7 separate regions of the Homo sapiens genome follow, and regions 2, 3, 4, 5, 6 and 7 are each linked to region 1. The links are contacts of gene promoters, found by promoter capture Hi-C in blood cells and fetal thymus (Javierre and others, 2016). All regions are on one chromosome and are shown on one strand. The core of a region is centred on a gene start or on the middle of the fragment in contact, and the rest is flanking DNA. Distances in the headings are between cores, read along the strand shown. Region 1 holds the start of AVEN (apoptosis and caspase activation inhibitor). Region 2 overlaps LOC105370764 (a long non-coding RNA gene). Region 3 overlaps AQR (aquarius intron-binding spliceosomal factor). Region 4 overlaps AQR (aquarius intron-binding spliceosomal factor). Region 5 overlaps AQR (aquarius intron-binding spliceosomal factor). Region 6 overlaps AQR (aquarius intron-binding spliceosomal factor). Region 7 overlaps AQR (aquarius intron-binding spliceosomal factor).

Region 1 (3,543 bases), core at 741-3,240:
ATTAGTAAAGTCCTGTGCGCCAGACACCATAGTTAACACCAAATGTACCATTACTACAATTACTCTTAAAGCACGATCCCTGCAGCTAAGGAATATCTACTTTGTTCTCAATAAAGTGGTAACTGGTTCACGAAAAAGTAAGAGATAAAATACTGTTGACTCAAGGGCAGCTTGATATAAATCCCAGCTCTGCCACTAGCTGTGAAAGCTTAGGCAAGTCAGTTAACCTGTAAAAATAAAGATTACTCTCTATATATGGATATATAAATAATATATAACATTGTAGTTAATATATAATTACATACTATTATATTACATAATTCTACATTACATATATATTATATATATATAATAGAGTTATAAGAACAAAATGTGATATATAGTGGGCACTAGGTTGGTCTTAGTTTCTGTCATTTACCTTAGTTTCTGTCAGTTTACACGAGGTAAACTGACCCTAAAAATGTTTTTATATCTCATTCAAGTTTTGCCTATTACCTATCTTAATCCTAACAAGATTTAAGTTTGTTACATTTAAATTTAAGTTTTATACTTTTTTTTCCAGCTCTGTATTGCTGTATACAACTACTCTCTTTAGGGATATCTTATCTGCTATGCCCTCAAGATATTGTAAATACTTCAGTAAGAGCAAATTTTGCCTCATGCAAAAAAGAATTTTTTAAATCAGTGTGCATAAGAATGCAGAATATAAAGATGGTCTTGTCCTACAGATGTTAAGGTAACAGAACAACTCATAAAAAGACAGTCCTCTAACTCCTTTAGCTGAGATATGGTTAGCTTTGCCCCCATATATATCATCCCCTGCTCCAATCTCCAAAAACTTCCTTCTATGAATGTGTCAATAAGACTGATGATATTGCTATTAAAACTCAGAACTTGACTGCTCATTTATAAATTGAAAATTCAAAACGACAAAGCCCAGTGCTCGCTGATTTCTACACATACAGGCATAATAAAAGAGAACTACGCTATTACAAAGAACTATGCATCTGGTCCCGCCCCCAAATACTAGAGTCCAGTCGTAGGGGTCATTCTTTCACTCAACAAACTTTTTATTATGCGCCTACTGTGTACTAGGCATTGCACAGACAGTTAACAAAACAGACCAAAAAATCCTTTCCCTCCTAATAACAGGAGCGTGCCCGTAAAGGCTGCCGAGGGACCACGTCGTGGCCGCGCCTCCGTCCCATAGTGGTACTCGTACAGACAGCCCAGCCGGCCCACGGGCCGCCGAGACTTGCAGCCCTGACACACGGCCTTGGCCTCTGGGTTCCTAACCCGGACCCTGGGGCAGGCTGGGAAGCCCTCCTACCCCCACTGTCTCGCGCCAGCCCGGCCAGGAGGCCACGAGGGCCAAGCGCATACCCAGGCGCGCCCCCGCCACCAGGCGCGCCCCCGCGCCACCATCCGCCCGTCCCGCGCAGGCGCCGGCGCCGCCGCCCGTCTGGCGCGCGCCTGGCACGCTCTCTTGCGGCTCTTGACTGGCGGCCTCGGCCCCACTTGCCCCAGTTACACGCGGTCCCAGCCCCACCAGCCGTCGCCTCTTACCGGCGCGCTGGCCCCTGCGCCCCAGCCTCCCGGCTCCCGGCGGCTGCCTCGCGGGGCGCCTCCTCCTCCTCGGCCTCCGCGAGCGCCGCGGAAGCCCCGGCCACGGCCACGGCCCCGGCGTCCGCCTCCGTCCCCGCCGCCGCCTCCGCCGCCGCCTCTGGCTACCGCCGCTGCGGCTCCGGGCCGCTCGCTGTGGCGATCTCCGCCAGGCCGGCCGCGGCCTGGCCGCCGCCCACGGCCTCCCCGAGCTCCTCGCTCCGCCTGCATCTGGCCGCCGCTGGCGGTGCTGAGCGCGCGGGAGCCGAGCTGCGGCGGAGACGCCCTGGCCCCACCGGAAGCGGGCCGCACGGAGGAGCCGCGAGCGAAAGGCGCCCGGTAGCAGCGAGGCGCGGGGTGCGGGGCTAGGGATCGAGGCCGGCCGCAGCGGAGCGGGGCGGGGCGGGGCGGCCGGCGTCCCGCAGGTGGGGCCGGAACCGGGACCGCGGGAAGGCCGGACCGCTGGGAGCTGGAAGTGGTGGGGGTCTGCAGCGGGGCGGGGGGATTCTCAAGGCATCAGAGATAGGTTGGGGGAGAGACCGTGCTAAGTGCAAGGACGAGTCATAAAATAAAATTTGTATGATGTGAACTCTCGGAAAAAAAAAGTTTAAACGTATGTATTTGCATAAGAAAAGGTCTAAACAAATACATACTAAAATGTTAGTGGTTAACTGCTGAGATTTGAAGTGAGTTAATTTTTTTTCCTCCGTTTAATCTAATTTTCAGCAACGAATGTGTATCATTTTAAAACTATACCGAAGTCAGGGTTCAGGAGGTGTGGATGTAAAGACAAGAGTTTGTGTCTGGTGAGAGGTGGACTGCAGCACGTGGGAGAGAGAACAGTGCGAAACTGGGAGATGGCTAGAAAGGGCGTCAAAGTCCTCAGCAGAATTTCTGTAGAAATGACTACTACAGCTGACATTTATTGAGCACATGAGTATTTCATTCTCATAACAGCTCTATGAGGTAGGGATGACTGTCATCCTTATTCTGCAGTGAGGTAACAGCCTTGGAAAGGTTAAAAAAAACTTGACTAAAGTGAATAACTAGGTAGTGGTGGAACTGGCATTCTAAGGCGGTCTCACTCCAGTCCCTTCTTTCAACCAAGGAGAAAACAGGAAGGGGAACAGTTGGTTACACAGATGCATGAAAGCAGTTTTTAACTTGGGACTGAAACCACCTGAAAATAATGAAAGCAAGGGCTAAAATGTCAGCCTAGCAGAATAAGTGTTTTCTTCCCCCTCAGTACTTTCTGGTTCTTTCCTATATCCATACATAGTTAATACTTTTCATTGCTTCTAATTGCCTACTCTGCATCAGGCACAGTGCTATGTCCTGAAATTAAAAACAAAAACAAAAAAAAAACCTTGCCCCTGCCCTCAAGTAGCTCACTGCCCACAAGGAAGATAATCTAGTCGTGTGAATAGATGATTACAGTACCGTGTTGCTGAGTGCAGTGAGAGATTCAAGATCAAGGTCCAAAGAAGAAAAGTTAAATTATATTTAAACGGGTTACCCAAGGCTTCATGAGAAATAGACCCCTGAGCTAAAGCCTAATGGTTGAGTAGGAGTTTGCCTGGTTGGTAAATGGGAGTAGGGGCGCCTTCCAGACAGGGGGAACTATTGAAGGATTGTCAACTCCAGAGAAACAGTCTTAAAAATAGTAACACTTGTAGAGCACTTATATGCACCAAACACTATTCTACATACTTCTCATATCACTTCATTTGGGACTAATAGCTGGCCTACGAGGTAAGCTAGTGTTGTCTCCATTTTACAGATCAGGAATCTAAAACAGATGTTAAGTAACTTCCAAGATTACACAGTTACAGGCCAGGTGTGTGGTTCGTGCCTGTAATCCCAGCATTTTGGGAGGCTGTGGCGGGTGGATTGCCTGAGACATGAGTTCAAGATCAGCCTGGGCAACATGGTGAAACCCCA
Region 2 (3,543 bases), core at 321-2,820, 960 kb after region 1:
GCCTGTAATCTCAGCACTTTGGGAGGCCGAGATGGGCGGATTGCTTGAGGTCAGGAGTTCAAGACCAGCCTGGTTGACACAGTGAAACCTCGTCTCTACTAAAAATACAAAATTAGCCGGGCGTGGTGGTGCATGCCTGTAGTCCTAGCTACTCAGGAGGCTGAGGCAGAAGAATCACTTGAACCAGGGAGGCGGAGGTTGCAGTGAGCCGAGATCGCACCACTGCACCCTAGCCTAGGCAACAGAGCCAGACTCCTTCCTAAAAAAAATAAAAATTGCAAAGAAATCTCATAATGTTTTAAGAAAGTTTACAAATTTGTGTTGGACCACATTCATAGCTGTTTTGGTGCGTGGATTGAACAAGCTTGTTGTAGATGTTCCTTATCAGACTTAGAAAGCTGTCACGCTCTTAGTTAATTGTCTCCTGGATCAGGGAAAAGACCTAGAAAAGGAAGTAGATTCTCTACAGAATGTAGATTTCCCCCACAAGAGACAACTTTGTAGGGCCATTTCAAAATACATCAAAGAAATATATTTGGGGGTAAAATACTTCTATTTTTTTCAGGGCCTACCATCTGTCATGTTGGTATCTTATTGCTACAGTCTGTTTTGTCAGTCTTAAAGTCTCTGTTTTAATGTCAATGCTGGTCAGCTGTGCCTGAATTCCAGCGGGAGAAGAGTATGATGAGGCACGTCCAACTCCCCCTTCCTATCGTGGCCTTAACTAGTTTGGAGGTTAACTTTGGAACGCCCTTGGCTAAGATGAAGGATCCAGTCGGTTGGGGGGCTTAGAATTTTGTTTTTGGTTTACAGTTGCCTCCACAAACATTTATTGAGCACTATCATGTGCCAAGCAGAGAAACAAGAAAATCCTTGTTCTTACAGAGCCTATATTCTGATAGTGATGGTGGTGGGAAAGAGAAAATAAACAAGCAAACAATAAATAAGATAATTTCTAATGGTGAAAACGACTATTAAGACAGAGTGATGTGACAGAGAATATTGAGGTATGGTGGGCTTCTTTAGATTAAGTGGTCAGGGAGGAAGGTCTCTGAGGAGATGATGTTTAAGCTGAAATCTGAATAAAAAGAAAGAGCTGGTGACCGGAAGATCAATCAATGGGAAGAATGTTGCAGGCAGATGTTACAGCTGGTGCAAAGGCTCTTAGGCAGGAATCACCTCAGTGACTGAAGAATAGGTAGAAGGCCAATGGTGGCCAGGCGTGGTGGCTCAAGCCTGTAATCCCAGCACTTTGGGAGGCCAAGGCGTGCAATCACCTGAGGTCAGGAGTTCAAGACCAGCTTGGTCTCTACAAAAATACAAAACAAAAAAAAATTAGCTGGGCATGATGGCAGGTGCCTGTAATCCCAGTTACTTGGGAGGCTGAGGCAGTAGAATCACTTGAACCCGGGAGGCAGAGGTTGCAGTGAGCCAAGATCGTGCTATTGCACTCCAGCCTGAGCAACAGAGTAAGACTCCGTCTCCAAAAAAAAAAAAAAAAAAAAAAAAAAAAAGAAGGCCAGTGGCTCAGCAATGGTGAGCAAGGAGAAAGTGGTACAAAATGCAAGGAGCTCTGAGAAGTGGTAGGGGTCAGATCCTATGCAGTGTTGTAAACTACAGTAAAGAGTTTAGATTTTATTCTAAATGCAATGGGAAACATTTGGAAGACTTTAGGAAAGAAAAGTGGTCTGATTTATGTGTGTGGGTATATATAATATAATATATATATTATATATATTATATATATATTTTTTTCTAGAAACAAGATCTTGCTATGTTGTTCAGGGTGGAGTACAGTGGTGTGATTATAGCTCACTGCAGCCTCCAACTTCTGAGCTCGAGTGATCCTCCTGCCTCAGCCTCCGAGTTTCTAAGACTATAGGCACATGTCACCCACCACACATGGCCAGTTTTTAAATTTTTTTGTAGAGATGGGGTTTCGCTATGTGGCACAGGCTGGTCTTGAACTCCTGGCCTCAAGTGATCCTGCCTCCTTGGCCTCCCAGAGCTGTGGGATTACAGGCTTGAGTCATCGTGCCCAGCCTGATTCGTATTTTTAAATGAACCCTACTGCTGCCATGTTGGAGTTAGTTGAAGGAGTGTGGGGTTGTATTGTATCAGCTTGGCTAAACCGAAATTTTTTGTTTTGTTTTGTTTTGTTTTGTGTTTTTTTTTTTTGAGATGGAGTCTTGCTCTGTCACCAGGCTGGAATGCAGTGGTGTGATCTCGGCTCACTGCAACCTCCGCCTCCCTGGTTCAAGCGATTCTCCTGCCTCAGCCTCCTGAGTAGCTGGGACTACAGGCGCCCACCACCATGCCCAGCTAATTTTTGTATTTTTAGTAGAGACGGGGTTTCACCATGTTGGCCAGGATGGTCTCGATCTCTTGACCTCGCGATCCACCCGCCTCGGCCTCCCAAAGTGCTGGAATTGCAGGCATGAGCCACGGCGCCCGGCCTTTTATTTTTTTTCAAGAATTTCCTTTGCTACCTGACTCAGGATTAGCAAGCCTCATGGGAGGCATTTTGCATGGTATTTGAAAGGTGAGAAGGAAGCAGTAGCTTGTTTTTACACTTGGAAGGTCTGTGCAGGGCACAGGCACCCATCCCAGCTCACCCATGTTTTTGTAATCTGCTGACTCACCTTGCTGGCCTTGGGCAACATCCAGCCCACAGTTCCTTCAACTCCTGCCAGATGTTCTCCTTTAGCTTCTCCAAGTCCCGGGCCAGAAACATGTTTAGCTCCATGACTAAGGGCAGAACATTAGACTATCTGTGGAAGCTTGGAGTTACTGAGAGGTCTGTCCTTGTAGGTTCATGTTTCTCTTTCCAGATGCTAGTTGATCCTTATGTCTTCAGTTTGCATTCATCCTCCCTTCTAAGTACCAGCCCCAACCTCTGGCACCAGGCACATATAGTGTTTAATCAGCTCCCACAGTTTTCTAAGGTGAAAGTCCTACAATAAGTGTATATATATATATATATATATATCAATTTATTTATATTTTATATAAGTGTATTTATATATAATTTACAGTTAAAATTTTTATCAATATTTATATTTTAAATATATTTATATACGTAGATTTTCTATAAAATGTTATATATTATATATTTACATTTTTATGCATAAAACATGTGATTTTTATATATTTGTTTTGTTACATATGTATGTATATGTTTCTCCTGCTTCAGCCTCCAGAGTAGCTGGGATTACAGACACGTGTCACCATGCCCGGCTAATTTTGTATTTTTAGTAGAGTCGGGGTTTCACTGTGTTGCCCAGGCTGATCTCGAACTCCTGACCTCAGGTAATCCACCCGCCTCGGCCTCCCAAAGTGCTGGGATTACAGGTGTGAGCCACTGCGCCTGGCTTATCCCTGTGGTTTTCTTCTCTCATTGAACATCATTGAAGAAGAGGCAAACGTGAAAGCAGGTACTGGGAACTTAGTCCAGACCCAGAGATCCAGAGACATTGTCATGGAGATGGGGAGAAGTGTACCGATTTAAGAAATGTTTTGGAGGTTGTATTAGAGTTTTCCAGA
Region 3 (3,543 bases), core at 485-2,984, 900 kb after region 1:
CATTAATATTAGGTATGATCCAGATCTTCTCCTACAGCTATATATATACTCTAATCAAGGAAAAAAAAATTCAAGTCCACATTTAGTCTCATCTATACTTTGCTAAATTAACCCCCTTTCTCTATAAGCTCAATAGATACTACCTTATTCATTTTATATTACTAAAATTAAGTTAAACATCGAATGCATATAAAAACTTTAAAATAAAAACTATATCTATGAAAAGTTAAGCAAAGTGGCTTTTCTAAGAAAAGGGGTATTTAGCTACCACTTGTATATCCAGATTAAGGCTATAGACTAAAACCACACGTTCTACTTATAACACATACATTCATAAGACTCTGAAATTAGAGACTTACCAGCTGTAAGCCCATCCACATTGGGAGGGAGATAAGCTGCTGTACTTGACTTCGTATCAAGTCTACTTCCTGTTTAGGGCATGAAGAAAATAAGTTTATAAACATACCAGCATTTCTACCTAAGTCTTTACATAAGAAGTATACTGCCTTTTTAAGTCCTGGAGGGAAAACATGCCACAAATATTTTCAAGTTAATATTTTGATATTAAGAAGTTCAATGCTTTAAAAAAGACTCCATCCTTATTATCTACAGATTTTGTACTTGCAAATTCATATACTAATAAAAATGTATTTGTAACCCCAAAATCAACACTCCATGTGCTTTCACAGTCATCCAGATGGCCCAAACAAAAATCTGAGTTGTCCGACGTGCACATTCTCAGGTGAGACTGAGCTGATGCTCTGCTTCATTCTCAGCTCTCATACTGTAAGAAACAAGTATCCTTTTTGTGGTCTATTGAGTACTATTTTTTTTGGCACGCTTGTGCTTTTTGATGATTTCGCTGTTTAAAATGGCAACAAGCCCAAGGCTGAAGTGCTGTCTGATGTTCATGGGTGCAAGAAGGCTGTGATATGTCTTACAGAGTAAATACGTATGTTAGATAAGCTTCGTTCAGGCATAATTACAGTGCTGTTGGCAGTGAGTTCATGGTTAATGAATCAATAATATACAATAAATAAGCTGTCTTTAAATAGAAACACACATAAAATAAGGCTATGTATTGATAGTTTGTAAAATGTCATGACCAAGGCTTGCAGGAACCTAACCCTGTATTTCCCCAAGGAGTAATGGTTCAGCATTAGCTCATTCAATGTTCATAGCTACTTTATAAAATGAACATAACTACCTCAAATAAGAACTGACTGCATATTTTAAAAGATAAAGCATTTCAATAATAAACTAGTTTGGTAAGTTGGCTAAAACTATCACCAAATTACTAATACTAATAAAATCTTGTTTCTGTTTAGTTTCTGATAAAAAAATCACATCTATTTATATTTCTATTTGTTCTGTTTAGTTTAATAAATGTTAAAGAGGCTTTCTGTGCCGATAACGCTCACGCAAGCATGGTTAACGTCCCTAAAACCCGCCGGACTTTCTGTAAGAAGTGTGGCAAGCACCAACCCCATAAAGTGACACAGTACAAGAAGGGCAAGGATTCTCTGTATGCCCAGGGAAAGCGGCGTTATGACAGGAAGCAGAGTGGCTATGGTGGGCAAACTAAGCCAATTTTCTGGAAAAAGGCTAAAACTACAAAGATTGTGCTAAGGCTTGAGTGCATTGAGCCCAACTGCAGATCTAAGAGAATGCTGGCTATTAAAAGATGCAAGCATTTTGAACTGGGAGGAGATAAGAAGAGAAAGGGCCAAGTGATTCAGTTCTAAGTGTCATCTTTTATTATGAAGACAATAAAATCTTGAGTTTATGTTCAAAATAAATAAATAAATAAATAAATAAATAAATAAATAAAAATAAATGTTAAAGAGATAACAGTGGTATCCAGTGCAGGCATCATAAATCTTTTTTTATGCCTTTAAAAGATCCATGTGAGATAGTACATGGAAACAGGTAATAATCATCCATCTATTAACACTCAGTCTTCAGAATAAGAAAGAACTCCATGCATTCCTCCTGCATGGGTGTAAGTGAATTATCAATTCAGAGGCACTAAATAAATATGTGTATTTATCAGCTAACCACACAGGAAAGCTCAAATAAAATATTACTGAAAATATTTAATTTTTTAGAAGATAATCTTATGAAGGATGAAAATGTATCACACACAAGACATTTTCAAAGATCATTTACACTTGGCCTTTATCAGTCAACTCAAAATACAACTCTCCTGTTGACTAACCAGCCTATGCATAAGGCATGATGAAAAGCAATGAAACTACATTCCTGTATGTATATGCAGTTTGTGGCACAGATCTCATTACTCCAATTCCATATAACCAGTCTCCTTGCTGCTTCTCATTTTTGTGCTCTCCCTTTAGAGTTTCAGTTCTTATAATCATTTTTCTTAAGAGTCTAGATAGAAAAAATTAAGTATCAATTTCAAATCTATTAAAAAGTGAACATATCTTATAAAAACATATCTTAAAGACTTATAAAATGGTTTTACTGATAAGTGGCTGAAATCAAGCTTTTAGCATTATCCTTATTGCCTGCTATTATGGATGAATGGAGTTGGCTACAGAGGTAATTTCATCTAAACTCAACCTAAAAGAACAAGAAAACTTGAAAATTACCCCAAAATATAAAGTAAAAGTACCAAACTATTGAAGCAATGATCAAGAAAAAGTAGTAAGACTGTCTGTTCATGAAGTGAAAATTCACCATCAGTTTCAGCTAATGCCGCCTTCAAGATGTGTTTAAAAAAGAATGGGAAGTGGTCTGGCTTCTTCTTAAAAATCTGAAAAGAAACAGAATAAAATTCATTTTGTATTGGCTTGCTCACTTAAGCTTTAAAGAAGCCCTAGTAGGCTTTTTAGCAGTCTATTAAAAAAACCAAATAATTACAAAAGGGTTATTTGTATATGTATAAAAGAAGCATCACGTGCTTACTTATAATTAATGGCAAGTCAAATACAGGTTTCTGACAGGACTATGAGAGAGCTGCAGAACCCTTTAGCTAATAAAATAATGGCTTTCATTTCTTTAGTTTTTCCTCTGTGGATTATGCCTGTATTTAGCTTAGGCTTTGTTTTCTTATTAAGGATCTGAAGTGTTTTAATTTCTCTGATTTAAACAAAAGAAACTACATCTTTAGCAAAAATTGTAGTTTTCACACTGTAATTAATCTCAAGAACAGCCCCTCCTGCTTTATATTAGCTCTTTACTCTTAACTTGTAAATAATGTAAATATATTCAAGCCTCTTTGACCTACCTCTGTTTCTAGTTACTGCCACAGACAAATGCTCCAAGCGTGTGGTCTATACTAGTTGTTTTCATTCACTTCTCTAAGACAAGCTCTCCTGAAGCTGTATGGCTGTCAAGTCCTATGGACCCTTATTAACTCTCAACTCCTTTTCACCATATTGAAGGCTCTTCTTCTTTTGCCTGTTATCTAAACCGCAATATTCGTAGGGTTCTAGCCTCATTCTTCTCCCTCTATTACTTCAACCACTAAATACCAATGATTCCAAATATACATCTGCAGTCCAGATTTCTCTTCTGAGC
Region 4 (3,543 bases), core at 481-2,980, 890 kb after region 1:
CTTCTACATAAAGCATCTAATATAGTTATTAAAAAGAATGACAGTTGTCATTAAAAAATTTAAAATATCTGTAATGACAAAAGATGTTACAAACAAAGTTAAACTGAAAGAAAATAAATGCAACACAAACTAGACAAAGGGATTAGGACCAAAAATATTAAAAGTTCTTTAAAATCAGTAAGATGACAAGCAATGAAATGCAAAATAGCAAAGGAAAATAAGAAGGTTACAGAAGAAATGTAAATGGCCAAGAAAAAAACAGAAAAATGCTTAATTTCCCAAATAAGATCAGGGAAATGCAAAGTAAAATGAGATAAAAATAGAAAAAATTAAAATCCAATTTACCCAGCATTAGTAGGGAGAAAAATAAATCCTCATACGCTGTTAGTTTAAGTGTAAATTGATAGTCTTTTCTGAAGGAAATTTAGCAATATGTAACAAGTTTTAAACGCATGCCCCGTTTGAATCAGCCATTCTGCTTCTAGGAATCAGTACGAAAAGGATGCTCATTGCAGAACTGTTTGTAAAAGCCAAAACTTAAAAATTAAAGATTCACCAAAAGGAGGCCAGGAGCGGTGGCTCATGCCTCTAATCCCAGCTCTTTGGGAGGCCGAGGCAGGATCACCTGAGGTCAGGAGTTTGAGACCAGCCTGGCCAACATGGTGAAACCCCATCTTTGCTACTAAAAATTAGCTGGGCATGGTGGCGTGTGCCTGTAGTCCCAGCTATTCGGGAGGCTGACGCAGGAGAATCACTTGAACCCAGGAGGCAGAGGTTGCAGTGAGCCGAGATCGCACCACTGCACTCCAGCCTGGGCAATAGAGCAAGACTCCGTCTCAAAAAAAACAAAAAAAAAGACTCACCAATAGGAGATTAACTTTTAAAAAAATAAGGCCGGGCGCGGTGGCTCATGCCTGTAATCCCGGCACTTTGAGAGGCTGAGGCGGGCAGATCACGAGGTCAGAGATCGAGACCATCTTGGCTAACACGGTGAAACCCCGTCTCTACTAAAAATACAAAAAATTAGACGGGCGTGGTGGCGGGCGCCTGTAGTCCCAGCTACTCAGGAGGCTGAGGCAGGAGAATGGCGTGAACCCGGGAGGCGGAACTTGCAGTGAGCCACTGCAGTCTGGCCTGGGCGAAAGAGCGAGACTCCGTCTCAAAAAAATAAAATAAAATAAAAATAAATAAAAAAATAAAAAAATAGTATGCTGGTCCTGTTTAATGGAACTCTATGTAGTTATTTAAAATAATGAAATGAATCTATGTGTTATTAATTATATTAAATCCTCATATGAGAATGAACAACCAAACCAACCTCAGTTTATTACATTTTAAATAGTCAAGGAACTAAACATAATTTATCCCAAGAGCTGGGAGATGATACAGTATAGTAGTTAAAAGTTAGGGCTTGGAAATCACACTATCCGGGTTTAAATTGTATCTCTGCCACTTACTTGCTGTGTAACCTAGGCAAATTACTTAACTATTCTATGCCCCAGATACCTTATACGTAAAATGGTACCTACTTCTAGCATGAATGTTTTCAGAGTTGTTTACACACTTAACAGAACGTCTATCACATAGTAAATAAATGTATGCCATTATTATTACTATTTTCAAAAGGATATATTAGCAGATAGCTAACTGCCAGAGGATATTACTAATTTTATAAATTTTAAACATGCAAAAATTTCCCTAAGTCACACCTCTAATATCACACATAATGAATCTTTATTGGTTTTTGTCATATGTCGTTTATGACTGATGAGATTGACCAGCTTTATATTCTACTCTGAGAAAAATTTCAGATCGAAGAAAATTGTATACGTCATAAAAAACAGAAACTTTACCAAACGTGGGTAAGTGACAAAGACACCAAACTGCTGGAGAGAAGCACTAGTTGTAGACGTCAACGAAGAGTGAAATAACAAGTAATATTATCTAAAGTACTGCAAAATGATTAAAAGCAATAAAGAAAAGTAAAATTGAGGGAGCATGATACAAAAAAAGAATATATAGTTTTTCATGTTGTCTTACCTAAGAGGTCCAAAAAACTTGACCAAGGACTCCCGAGTATCTACTTCTGCCACATTTGAGAGGGCAAAATCATAGAGTTCAGGAAAATGTGCAAAAGCAGCTCTCTAGAAAATAATGGCAAAAAATATTAATAATTAATGTCTACATATTAATATAAACATCTACTATTTAAGAATGAAAATATTTTATAAAAATATTAACGCATTTCTGTCTCTTATATGCTTCTTTTATGTGACCTCTACCTTAATCAGACAGAAGCATATAATAAAAAGAGAAAAAACTACAACTGTCATAACAGAAATGTAAAAAACATAAAGTTGGCGTTCAGCTTTTGACATCTAAAAGGATTTTCAATATATACAAAATAGCCACAAAGGCTAGCTTTATTGACAGAAGAGGAGCAAAAAACAAATACACACTTGATTATCAAGAACTGGTCGAACAAGACTAAAAGAAAGTCCCAAGGGAAACTCTGGCTGCAGAGAACTTGGAAGGAGAGACCAAAAAACTTATGCTTGTGCCTTGCTTTTGTTTGGAACTCTGGGAAAAGACCTCACAGGGTAGCACTCTCAACCAACATAGGGTAAGCTGTAAGAAAACAGAAATAGTAGTATTGCACAGAGTGACTGAGATAATATCCCTAGTCTTCCTTGGGATTTAACAACAGAGTGATTGAAATAATATCCCTGTCTTCCTTGATGCCCACATGGCACAGAAAAGATCCGGAAGTTTTCATGTGTTCCATGGTGGATGACACAGAAGGTTGCCAAGGTTGCCATGAGTGAGCTTGCCATGGGATTATGAGATTACTACACACAATGGCAAAATGACTCTGCAACCCAAGCATGAGAATGAACTGTGTAAACAAGGAAATAAACAAGTCAGTCCTCAGGAGAATGCTAGCAGCATCAAGCAAAGTTAGGGCCTCCTCAACAGGGCAAATAGCCAAGTTCCTTGGAAGCAATAATGATGCCTTGCCTGTGTCAATACAATAGACCACATGCCACACCAGCTGTGGTTATTTCAAGGGCAGAGACAGGACAAAAACACTAATGCTCTGAAAAAAGCAGGAAAAGACATCTGCGTTAATCCTTCTTCCAAAACAATAAGGCTATTTTGGTGTCTCCACATACCTAGTAGGAAAGAAGAAAAACAGAGATTTTTTTTTTTCACTTTTTACACCATTATTTATTTATTTTTTCTTCTAAAAAAAATGGGATACATGTGGAAATGTGCAGGTTTGTTACATAGGTATACATGTGCCATGGTGGTTTGCTGCACCTATTGACCTGTCCTCTAAATTCCCTCCCCTCAACTCCCATCCCCGACAGGTACTGGTGTGTGTTGTTTCCTTCTCTGTGTCCATGTGTTCTCAATGTTCAACTCCTGCTTATGAGTGAGAACATGCGGTGTTTGGTTTTTTGTTCCTGTGTTAGTTTGCTGAGGATGATAACTTCCAGCTTCATCCGTGTCCCCGCAAAGGACATGATCTCATTCCTTTTG
Region 5 (3,543 bases), core at 328-2,827, 870 kb after region 1:
TCTATGCAAAGCAGCAAGAGAAGTAATGAGAATGAATGGGAATCATCCTACTCTCTGAGTTGTACTACCTGTGTGATGTCTGATCTGCACAGCTCATTAAAACTTCTAAGTCTTACAGCCAAAGAAGTGGTCCTGAGAAGTCATTTATCCTCTCCCAAGATAGGAGTTACTTTTTGGCATCACTGAGGGATGACCTCTTGTTCCTTCCTAAAACAAACCACTTTACTCTGGGACATCTTAGATCCACATTTTTTAAAATCCTATATGTCTCTCTCCTTGCAACCATTTGTATCCACCCTATCCTAGCTGTGCTTTCTGGAGCAAATCTGGCATTTCCATTTCATGAATTCTGTTTCCTTAACTTTAAATGAGAATATTGAAGAAGATAAGGGCTTGAGGTTCACACCTTTTCAAAGGGACAAAAGGAATGTTTTATGGTATTTAGTTTAATAATCTTTAAAATTTACTTTTATAAAACAATATTCAGCTGGGCACGGTGGCTCACGCCTGTAATCCCAGCACTTTAGGAAGCTGAGGCAGGTGGATCACAAGACCAGCCTGGCCAAGATGGTGAAACCCCGTCTCTACTAAAAATACAAAAAATTAGCTGGGCGTGGTGGCGGGTGCCTGTAATCCCAGCTACTCGGGAGGCTGAGGCAGAGAATTGTTTGAACCCAGGAGGTGGAGGTTGCAGTGAGCCGAGATTGTGCCACTGCCCTCCAGACTGGGCGACAGAGTGAGACTCCGTCTAAAAAAAAAAAAAATGTATTATTGTTTACAGAATCTCTCCTTTTTACTCCATTTTCTATTTGGCTACCCTATCTGTGATCAATATAGGGGCTGGTTTTTGGCCCAGGCCTCCCATAAAACACTTTTCTCTCCATCATACCCCAGATTATCACTCATCCCACAATACCCTATTGTGCCCTATCTTGCCCATCAAAATGTACCCTGTCCAGTTCTCATTCTACCAGAGGCTGATGTTTAAAAGAAAAAAAGACTGTCTCATGTCCTTCTGAAAGCAGTCAGTAATGGGGGAAGTGGCCTGTTTTTAAACATCCTTTTGTTTTCCTTAACACCAAAATGCAGACCTCTCATCTATAAATTCCTATAGAGTCCTTTAAAATAAACAAAATTCCAACTATCTACTACTTCTGGGGGTACCCAGTAAGTTATCTCAGTTTATTACCCACAGTGTTTAATATCTCCTTAAGCTTCAAGGAATAATAAATATGAGACCTTCTCCAGCAACTTAATGGCTTTCTCGAGGCTCAGCAATAATAAAGGTGCACATTAGTCTAGATGAGTAATATACCAGGATGGAACTCTTTTGAAGGATACAAGGGTTATAAAACAATCTGTCATAAACTATACCCGCTACAGTAGGCATTTGTTAAACATTTGGCTAGCTTTGTTGCTGGATTCCTTCAGAATTCTTTGATATAGTTCCCATGATTATAAACAGCTACACTGGTAGTAATAATTTCTGAAAACAGATCCATTAAGGGACATCCTTTCCTTCTGGCATGCCAAGAAGGTAAAAGGAGGTAAAACCTACTGACTACTGTTTCTCAAAACAGGGCTTTAAGTAAGACCTCTCACAGGACAGCTGGGAGAAAAATATAAAACTGCCTATTAGAAATCAGTTCATATGTCACTTCTGGCAGAGGTCTTATTGATGTTTTAACTCTATTGGACTTAGTAATTTTGAACATATCTGCCTCCAAAACAAATTAATTTTGACATGGAACTCTAATCCTTAAAATCTTGCCTAGCAAAAATAGGAGGAATAACTCCTTTAATTTCTTTGCAATTATTATATATCCTTGACTACATTTGACTTCACTGACTCTTTATCCTTTCTGCCTTAGGCGCAAATAAACTATTATTTATTTCTGAATTGTTTCACTATAGCCCTGCCCACCCCCACATATTCTTTTTAAGCTTGCCTAATTTTTATTTTCCACAAAGTGTATGTATTTCTATTTTTTTCACCTTGGCTACTTTTATCTTTTGAAAAATACCAATTTTCCTTACTGCTCTGCATGTTTGTATGTTATATGTGGGCTTTCTCCCTGCTCTTTGGTGAACACTAATATTTTTATTCTTTTATATTGATGCCAGAAATCCATAAATATTATTTTGCTAAATTTAAGACTTAAAATGCTCTCCTCTAGGCTTTGCAAACTTCAGTTTTCAAAACGTTGATATGTATGCAATTTTATACTTTTTATTAAAGTATTAAGATACCTAAATATTCTTGTATGATCCCTGGTATTTTTAAAACTAATAATTAGAAAAAAAGTTGCTATTCTTTAAATCAAATTTCAAGGATAACGCTTAATAAAAGCTTTAAAGGATAACATTTAGTAAAAGTACTTTGTTAATGCTCTAAGTGAAAGTTCATAACAAGGCAAAAGGTAATGTCACTTTTTGAAATACAAACTTACCTTCCCATTCATCTTTGATGTGATCTCTGACATTGAGATTTATGGTAACATCTGCACGAACTCGGGTTGGCCAGTTTTCACCTATGTTGGGTTTGGCCACTTCAACGACAGTGAAAGCCACAATGGGCTGGGCCATTCGCGCCCAACCACCAAACACTACACCGCCATATTCAGATTGCCTGAAACCAAAGAAATGGATGATTACTCAAACAAAAAATAATTTATCCCCAACTTTTAGACAAGTTAAAACTAGTAAGTAGGAATACTGTTCAGCTAGTATTTAAGTCCTAATATTAGTAACTCTTATTTCTTAACTTAAAAAAAAGAAAACCTTTAACTCTCAAAGTATGCAAAGTATATAAGATAGCATGAAACAGGGATATGATAGCATGAAACAGGCAAACATGGTCCAGAAAAGAAAGAGAAGTAGAGGAATATCTCCTCTCCAACCTAAGAAAAAAGCTAACCCTATGTACATAAGAGCATTCTGGGGCTGAGCCATTTTATCAAAGAAATAAATAATCCAGCACACTTAGTTTTATTTCAGCTTTATTGACGTATACTTGACAAATAAAAATTGTATATAGTTAAGGAATACAATGTGATGTTTTAAACTATGTATACACTGTGATATCATTACCAACACAGTTAGCATTTTTTGTGTGTGTGGTAAGAATACTTAAGATCTATCCTGTCAAGTTTCAAGTACATAAAACATTAATTATAGTCACTATACTTTACATTAGATCTCCAAACTTATGTATCTTGTAACTGAAAGTTTAGACCCTTTGACCAACATGACCCCATTTTCCCCACCTACAACCTGATAACTGCCCTTCTACTGCTTCTATGAATTTGCCTTTTTTAGATTCCATATGTAAAGTGAGATAATCAGTTTTTGTCTATCTGTATCTGGCTTAATACATTTAGCATAATGTACTCCTGGTTTATCCATGTTGTCAAAAAAAGGATTTCCTTCTTTTTAAAAGGTGAATCATATCCCATTGTGTGTTTTTATATATGTACACACACACCACATTTTCACATTTTCTTTATCCATTCAGCCCTTAAGTTGTTTCCACATCTTGGTTAT
Region 6 (3,543 bases), core at 753-3,252, 850 kb after region 1:
AAATAAAATGAGACATTATAAAGCAACTTTGAATGAAAAAAATTAAAATACTAATGGCAGAAGAAATCCGACTTGTAAAGTTTTAGTCAATTTACAGTATGTGATATCAAACAAAGTCCAGCCAAACTGGCAAGAAGCATCTGAAGTTATACTTATAACCCCAAAGCTTATATTATCATTAATCACTAATTTGCATTCTTTTTTTTTTGAGACAGAGTCTTGCTCTGTCGCCAGGCTGGAATGCAATGGCGCAATCTTGGCTCACTGCAACCTCTGCCTCCCGGGTTACAGCGATTCTCCTGCGTCAGCCTCCCGTAATTTCTATTTCAATAAATAAATCAACCTCCTAATTGGCACCTAAAATATATGCAAATTAAATTCCTGAATAAGATGTGAAAAAGGAATCATTTAAAGTTGTACAGTTTTGAACTGGCAGCATGAAAAATTACCTCAATAAATAGAAAGCAAAAGGCAATCTGTTAAAAAGATTAACAAGATCATTCTCTTCATTAACATAATTGTATATTTGAAGACAAAATGGCATAACCATACACAACTGGAACTGAGGGACATCATGACCATATTTCTAGCTCAACATATAGTCTTAGTAAGTTAAGTTAGAACCTTTCAGAATTAAGTTTCAGTATTCATTGCTTTCTTCTTCTTTAATAAAAGAAATGAAAAGAAAATAAAAAATCCTTTTTTACACTGTTACTCACTCCCATTTGCTCACCTGCTGAAATCTTTCTCTGTCTCCAGCTCTTCTTCTCCATGACCAAGACGCAGTAGGTGGCGCTCATCAATGTCTAATGCCATGATTTTCTCAAACAACTGGTTTAGGGCCTAGACAATAAAGCAAGAAGGGTGACGGCACCTTTAAACGTAGCAAAAACTAACATTTAGAAAGAATCAAAGTTGAAACACAGAAGGAAATCAGCCTTATATTAGGCCATTTATAATTTAATCAAATAGTATTTATATTGATTTCTGATATTGCCATCTATGTCTATTTGGCTGTATGGATAACTAGAAACCATAAAACCACCCACCTATTAAACATCTGCTTTTAATTTATGAAACGAGAAAGGCATTGGCTCAGATGCTATTTCTTCCGAGTTGTAACAACTCCTAAAATAAACAACCACACTGAGTTTCATTTCATTCAACAGCATTTCCTTGGGTTACAGAGAACTGAAAAAGTTTTTGCAGTTGGAGAAAGACAATAAGAAGGCAGTGAGTGTGTTGGTAGAATACATTAAGAGGACCAGAAGGTGGAAACATAAATTGCATCTTTCAAATCTTAGTCTGAAAGTCTAATGTTCTCAATATAATAAAGAGCAGAGCACTCATTTATTGCAAACTATTCTGATGAAAGTCATTTAAAAGTCACTACTTTCTATCTGTGAAATGTTCATAATTAGGGTTCCCTCGAATCCTAGTATTCATTATCTGAACTTCCGCAGTTACAAGGTTTTACAGAAAGGCAAAAGTTTCATAGTATGGAAAGACTCACTAATTAAGGTACTATTTAAAAATAAGCCGCCATTCAAACATCTCACTTTCACTAGTCCAACCCTGCCTGTGAAGTCAGCATCCAGTCTTATAAACACCTAGGTTATATAATGTAGATACAGATATCCTTTACCATCAAAATTCTAGCAATCTGAGCTCTGAAACTGAAGAGATTTAACATAAATTTTCAGAAAAATCCCCCACTATCCAAACTCTTGATACTCATCATCCAAAACTCAGTACCCAACAGAGCAGATTACATGGTGTTACTCACTATCCAAACCTTCACTATTCAAACTCAAGAACCACATAGATTGAATAAAAGTAAAAACAAAAAACAAAACCCCCACAAACTTGCACACTATAATCCCAGAAAAAACTACATGATTTCATTGTGAATTACAGTGATTTTGAAGAACTACTTGAATTATACATGCAAATGAAGATCTGGCAAACAAAACAGTTAACTGAAGGAAAACAATCAATTCGATGGGCATCAAGGGAAATGATTTGAATTTCAAAAAACCAAGGCAGGTGTTTAGCAAGCAGTGAATTATGTGTCTATTTTTGCAAATTAATCTTTTCAATGATTGTGCTATACAAATCAATCATAAAGTAGAGGATAACTGTAGAAAGCCATATCAAGGTATGACAAAACAGTAAAAAATATGTTAAAACAACACATGAATTATTCTGTTCATTTTAAGAATTTACAATAGGTTTTTACAGAACAAATTTTATAAACAGAAGAAAAAAACTTCTTTTCATAATTTGTTTCTTTTATCAAGACAAAGTCCAAATTGATCCCCCTTCAACTCCCACAAATTCAGTATATTAGATGCATTATGTCCAATATGTTATGTAATATGTTATTATATAATTATGTATAACATATATTCAGTATATTGGATAAGTTTACTATTTATAAACTTCAAAATATATAAAAATATGTCAGGCAAATGAACTGAAGAGTATTATTTTTAAAACTTTACAAATTAAAAGTTAATGATCACCAGAGTAACTGATATTTGGCATTCCAAAAACACAGTGCTTCTGTATATACCAACTCAAAGACTGGTCAACTGAAGTCACCACTGTTAACATAAACTCCGAGAAAAAACTTTCAGAGGTTTTGACTACCATGCAAATTTCATAATATGCTTCAGGATGTTCTCAGAGTTGCCTGTCTCATTTTATACCAGATCTAATAAATGTTACTTGTTCTTCCCTCATTTCTGACAGCTTCAGAATGACTAAAGTAGAATACAGTCCCTTCATGTAATACAGGTGTACATTTCACATGGATTTGAAATTTAATCCAGTATCAATGCACTTTAGACCTTAGTCTTTCAGGAATATTCATTCTACTAAATGAAGAAAAATGCTCCCAGTAAGGGTTAATGCTTATAATCTCCAAGTAAAAGTTCTAGTTTAGTGTAGAAGGAAAAAATAGCAATTTAATTTAATCCAAATATCTAACCATATATCCAAATAGTCTTAGCTTTTTCACATTGACCCTCTCCAGTAGAAATAAAAGATTGCTTTTATATATCTCTCAATGTCATCTCATTATAAGCAGTGATAATCCAAGAGTAGCTCAATAGCAGATACTCCTCAACTTACAATGGGGTTACATTCCAATAAATCTATCATAAGTTGAAAATATCCTAAGTTGAAAACACATTTAACACACCTAACCTACTGAACACCATAGCTTAGCCTAGCCTATGTAAAACATGCTCAGAACACATATATTAGCTTATACCTGGGAAAAATCATCTAACACAATGTGCCTATTTTATACTGAAATGTTGACTATCTCATATAATTTATTGAATAGCGAAATAAGAGTGATAAACAGAATGGTTGTATGGGTACTTGAAGTACAATTTCTGCTGAATTCATATTGCTTTCACACCATCATAAAGTCAAAATATTACAGGTCAGAATAAAAGTCAAACCAAAAGTCAGGGACCATCTATACTAATTAGCCTTTCCTGGTATTTTGTGGTACCTATGATCAGATTTTCA
Region 7 (3,543 bases), core at 637-3,136, 820 kb after region 1:
AATATAAGAACTAAACATTAATTAGTGACAGTAAAATGGCAGAAGCAAATATAAAATACAAAAAACAGCTTTACTCAGACTTTTTGACTGCCATGTCCTCCTTTAGAAGGACTACAGTTTGGCTACTTGGTCTCTTCCGGGGCAGATGTGGCATCCTGAGGTGTGTTAGCTTCTGCCGGTGCAGATACAGCTCCTACCACAGTAGGGGTGGTCTCAGATAAAGCAGGGATGGCTTCTGGAGTGGAAGTGGCTCCTGTCTCACTGGGGGTGGTGTCAGTTTGAAAGGCTGGAGTTTCTTGACGGCAGCTGGTGTCTGTTGGACTGGGTATGATGTCAGCTTGAACAGTCATGGCCTCTTCTTCTGTTTCCAATTCTGTTTCTTGATTTTGAACTTCCTCACCCTCTTCTACCATAGCAGGTGGTAGTTGTAATAAAGTCTAATTAAAAAAAAAAAAACAAAGACAATACCAATATGAAAAACAGCTTATAAAGCTAAGCTCTCACATTACCATTCTAGAGTTCTCCAAAACAGTGCTGACCATTTTATACTCCAGATGTAACACCTCTGATGACAATGGTCTAGGTTCTGCTAACACCAAGGAATATGCCTACACAGATGTCATATACTGATAATCAAAATACATATAAAATCTTCAGAGAGGAAAACAACCATGAAAAGCTATTAGATTTTTAAGCAACATACTTTGCTGTCAACATTTCTGCAAAAAACAGTGACTGATCAGGACTGATTATAAAACTAACTCAAGAAAGGGTCAACTTTAATCAAAGAGCCCTGTGAGCTGGGTGCGGTGGCTCATGGTGGCATTCCCGGCACTTTGGGAGGCCAAGGCAGGCGGATCACTTGAGGCCAGGAGTTCGAGACTAGCCTGGCCAACATGGTGAAACCCCATCTCTACTAAAAAACACAAAAATTAGCTGAGCGTGGTGGCAGGAGCCTGTAATCCCATCTACTCAGGATGCTGAGGCAGGAGAATCACTTGACCCTGTGAGTTGGAGGTTGCAGTGAGTTGAGATTGTGTCACTGCACTCCAGCCTGGGTGACAGAGAGAGATTCTGTCTCAAGAAAAAGAAAAAGAAAAGAAAAAGAGCCCTGTGAGAGGCAGAGAGGAGCCTGGCCTTAAGGCAAAGCCATGGGAGAAGGGAGCAGCAAGGAACAAGGTTTCTGTTCCGTTCAACCAGAAAACTGGAGCAACTCTATATGCTTAGCTTGCCCTTTGCCCCATGGCAGTCTAGTGACTTTCTCATCAGGGACTCTGCTTACAATGCTGGAAATTGAATGAATGAATTGATTGATCGATTGATTGATTGACTGAGACAGAGTCCCACTCTGTCGCCCAAGCTGGAGTGCAGTGGTGCCATCTTGGCTCACTGCAACCTCCGTCTCCCAGGTTCAAGCGATTCTCCTGCCTCAGCCTCCCAAGTAGCTGGGATTACAGACATGTACCACCATGCCTGGCTAATTTTTGTATTTTTAGTAGAGACGGGGTTTCACCATGTTGGCCAGGCTGGTCTCGAACTCCTGACCGCAGGTGATCCACCTACCTCAGCCTCCCAAAGTGCTAGGATTACAGGCATAAGCCACCGCGCCTGGCCTTTAAGATTTTTAAAAAGTACCGTGCACGACAGCAGCAAAAAAAAAAAAAAAAAAAAAGAAAACGAAAAAGAAAAATACTTAGCAAAATGTTAACAAAATATGTGTAAGGTTTGTATGTTGAAAACTACAAAATCCTGATGAGAATTTAAAGAAGATCTAAATAAACGAGAGATCTTATTCATGGATAGGAAGACTTAATATGTGAAGATGTTAATCTCCCCAAATAGATCCTAAACAATCCTCCTCTTCAAAATATCCTTTTAAAAACTGCAGCATGCTTTTGGGGGTAGAAACTGACCTGCTGATTGTAAAATGTATACAGAAAAGCAAAGGAACTGGGATAGCTAAGACAATTTCTAAAATGAAGAACAAAGCTAAAGGACTTATGTTATCTAATTTCCAGACTGACTGTAAAGCTACTATAATCAAGGTAGTACAGTCATGGCAAAGGGACGGATATACAGAATAATGGAACAGAATAGAAAGCCCAGACTCTCACATATATAGTCAATTGATATTTTGACTAAGATGACAAGCAAGTCAACAAAGAAAAAAATCGCCTATTAGGGAAGTGGTGCTCAAACAACTGCATATCCACAGACAAATGAATAAAACTCAGTCCTACCTGTATCATATAAAAATTAACTCAAAATGCATCATACCTAAGTATCCAACCTAAAACTCTGCAACTTCTAGAAAAAACCTTTATACCTCTGAGTTAGGCTATGTATTTTTAGGACATAAAAAGCATGAATCATAAAAGAACACTTTGATACATTGAACTTCATCAAAATTTAAAACTTTTGCTCTTTGAAAGACACTTACAAAATAAATAAACAAGCCAGAATGGGAGAAAATATTTGTAAAATACATATCAGATAAAGGACTTGTAGCCAGAATAAATAAAAACCTCTCAAAACTTAATAAAATATACAGCCTAATAAAAAAATGAGCAGGAAACCTGAGCAGACACATCCCCAAAGATATACAGATGGCAAATGACCACATGAAAAGATGCTCATCATCAGTCCTTAGGGAAATGAAAACCAAAACCATACTGAGACCACTGTATATCTATTAGAACTGCCAAAATTTTAAAAAGACGTACCATATCAAGTGAGGGTGAGGATGTGTAGCAACTAGAACTCTCACACTGCTGCTGAGAGTGTAAAGTGGTTCAACCACTTTGAAAAACAGGTTGGTAGCTTCTTAAAAAGTTAAACACATCCTTAACATAAATTCAGCCATTCCACTCTTAGGTATCTACCCAAGATAAAGTACAAAGACTTGTATAAGCAATAGTAGCCAGAAAAAATAAGAATACATACTGTATGCTTCCATTTATATAAAAATCTAGAAAATAGAAGCAAACCTATCATGACAGAAAGCAGATCCTTGGCTGCCTGGGAAGGTAAAAAGGGGACTGGTGAAGGGCAAGGAGGGATTACAAATGGGCACAAGGGAAAACTCTTGGGATAATGGATATGCTCTTTATCTTGACTGTGCTGATGGCTTCACAGGTAAATACCTATGCCAGAACATATAAAATTTTACACTTTAAGTTTGTGGACTTTATTGTATGTGGAATTCTAACTATATAAAGAAGTTTTAAAAATACGAATGTTACATAAATAATAATAGCCTGCTTTAGTTTAGCTGATTTCCCACAAGGAATTAGGTACTTTAAAGATTTATTCTGAAAAAAAGAAAATTATTTCTACAGCAAGAAAAATAAAAGTCGATTTTGAGAAACTCACCTGATGATAATGATGTGTAGTCTGTATCAAATGCATGTACATGTTGTATACAAAGTTTGCCATCTGGGGCATATTTTTTATTATTTGTACTTCATGAGATGGTCTCTCTCCATTCTAGAAGAAGGAAAAAAGAACGTTAAGTATCTAGTAAAACAACCCTAGAAGGTAACA

The links. The method cuts DNA at HindIII sites, captures the fragments that hold promoters and counts their contacts. A CHiCAGO score of 5 or more calls a contact.
Region 2: a contact is called between a fragment that was not itself captured here and the fragment with the promoter of AVEN in region 1, in 1 of 17 cell types (total CD8 T cells). The highest score is 5.0, in total CD8 T cells.
Region 3: a fragment that was not itself captured here is called in contact with the fragment with the promoter of AVEN in region 1 in 5 of 17 cell types (activated CD4 T cells, naive CD4 T cells, total CD4 T cells and 2 more); the score reaches 6.6 in activated CD4 T cells.
Region 4: a fragment that was not itself captured here is called in contact with the fragment with the promoter of AVEN in region 1 in 1 of 17 cell types (total CD4 T cells); the score reaches 5.7 in total CD4 T cells.
Region 5: a fragment that was not itself captured here is called in contact with the fragment with the promoter of AVEN in region 1 in 4 of 17 cell types (total CD8 T cells, activated CD4 T cells, total CD4 T cells and 1 more); the score reaches 7.8 in total CD8 T cells.
Region 6: a contact is called between a fragment that was not itself captured here and the fragment with the promoter of AVEN in region 1, in 1 of 17 cell types (activated CD4 T cells). The highest score is 5.8, in activated CD4 T cells.
Region 7: a fragment that was not itself captured here is called in contact with the fragment with the promoter of AVEN in region 1 in 1 of 17 cell types (activated CD4 T cells); the score reaches 5.5 in activated CD4 T cells.

What each region holds. Positions count from the first base shown.
Region 1 is chr15:34,037,214-34,040,756 of GRCh38, forward strand. AVEN (apoptosis and caspase activation inhibitor) reads right to left here and starts at 1,991. Exons shown (of 6, transcript NM_020371.3): 1 at 1,567-1,991. The coding sequence starts at 1,833. The region is part of intron 1 of CHRM5 (cholinergic receptor muscarinic 5); the gene reads left to right. RefSeq lists silencers at 964-1,023, 1,374-1,433, 1,524-1,733, 1,914-2,083. The HindIII fragment of the contact is 8,272 bases long and covers 207-3,543 here.
Region 2 is chr15:34,998,032-35,001,574 of GRCh38, forward strand. All of the region lies in intron 2 of LOC105370764 (a long non-coding RNA gene), which reads left to right. Among named protein-coding and RNA genes, the nearest start is that of ZNF770, 12 kb to the left of the region's middle. The HindIII fragment of the contact is 2,416 bases long and covers 363-2,778 here.
Region 3 is chr15:34,941,653-34,945,195 of GRCh38, forward strand. AQR (aquarius intron-binding spliceosomal factor) reads right to left here. Exons shown (of 35, transcript NM_014691.3): 6 at 2,636-2,776; 7 at 360-428. It also overlaps the pseudogene RPL36AP8. Among named protein-coding and RNA genes, the nearest start is that of AQR, 26 kb to the right of the region's middle. The HindIII fragment of the contact is 1,540 bases long and covers 965-2,504 here.
Region 4 is chr15:34,924,995-34,928,537 of GRCh38, forward strand. AQR (aquarius intron-binding spliceosomal factor) reads right to left here. Exons shown (of 35, transcript NM_014691.3): 13 at 2,041-2,144. Among named protein-coding and RNA genes, the nearest start is that of AQR, 43 kb to the right of the region's middle. RefSeq lists a silencer at 2,814-3,108. The HindIII fragment of the contact is 5,060 bases long and covers 1-3,543 here.
Region 5 is chr15:34,907,685-34,911,227 of GRCh38, forward strand. AQR (aquarius intron-binding spliceosomal factor) reads right to left here. Exons shown (of 35, transcript NM_014691.3): 17 at 2,451-2,629. Among named protein-coding and RNA genes, the nearest start is that of AQR, 60 kb to the right of the region's middle. The HindIII fragment of the contact is 730 bases long and covers 1,213-1,942 here.
Region 6 is chr15:34,889,482-34,893,024 of GRCh38, forward strand. It overlaps AQR (aquarius intron-binding spliceosomal factor), which reads right to left. Exons shown (of 35, transcript NM_014691.3): 24 at 734-843. Among named protein-coding and RNA genes, the nearest start is that of AQR, 78 kb to the right of the region's middle. The HindIII fragment of the contact is 3,676 bases long and covers 165-3,543 here.
Region 7 is chr15:34,856,670-34,860,212 of GRCh38, forward strand. It overlaps AQR (aquarius intron-binding spliceosomal factor), which reads right to left. Exons shown (of 35, transcript NM_014691.3): 34 at 3,373-3,486; 35 at 1-437. The coding sequence ends at 123. Among named protein-coding and RNA genes, the nearest start is that of ACTC1, 63 kb to the left of the region's middle. The HindIII fragment of the contact is 7,297 bases long and covers 1-3,543 here.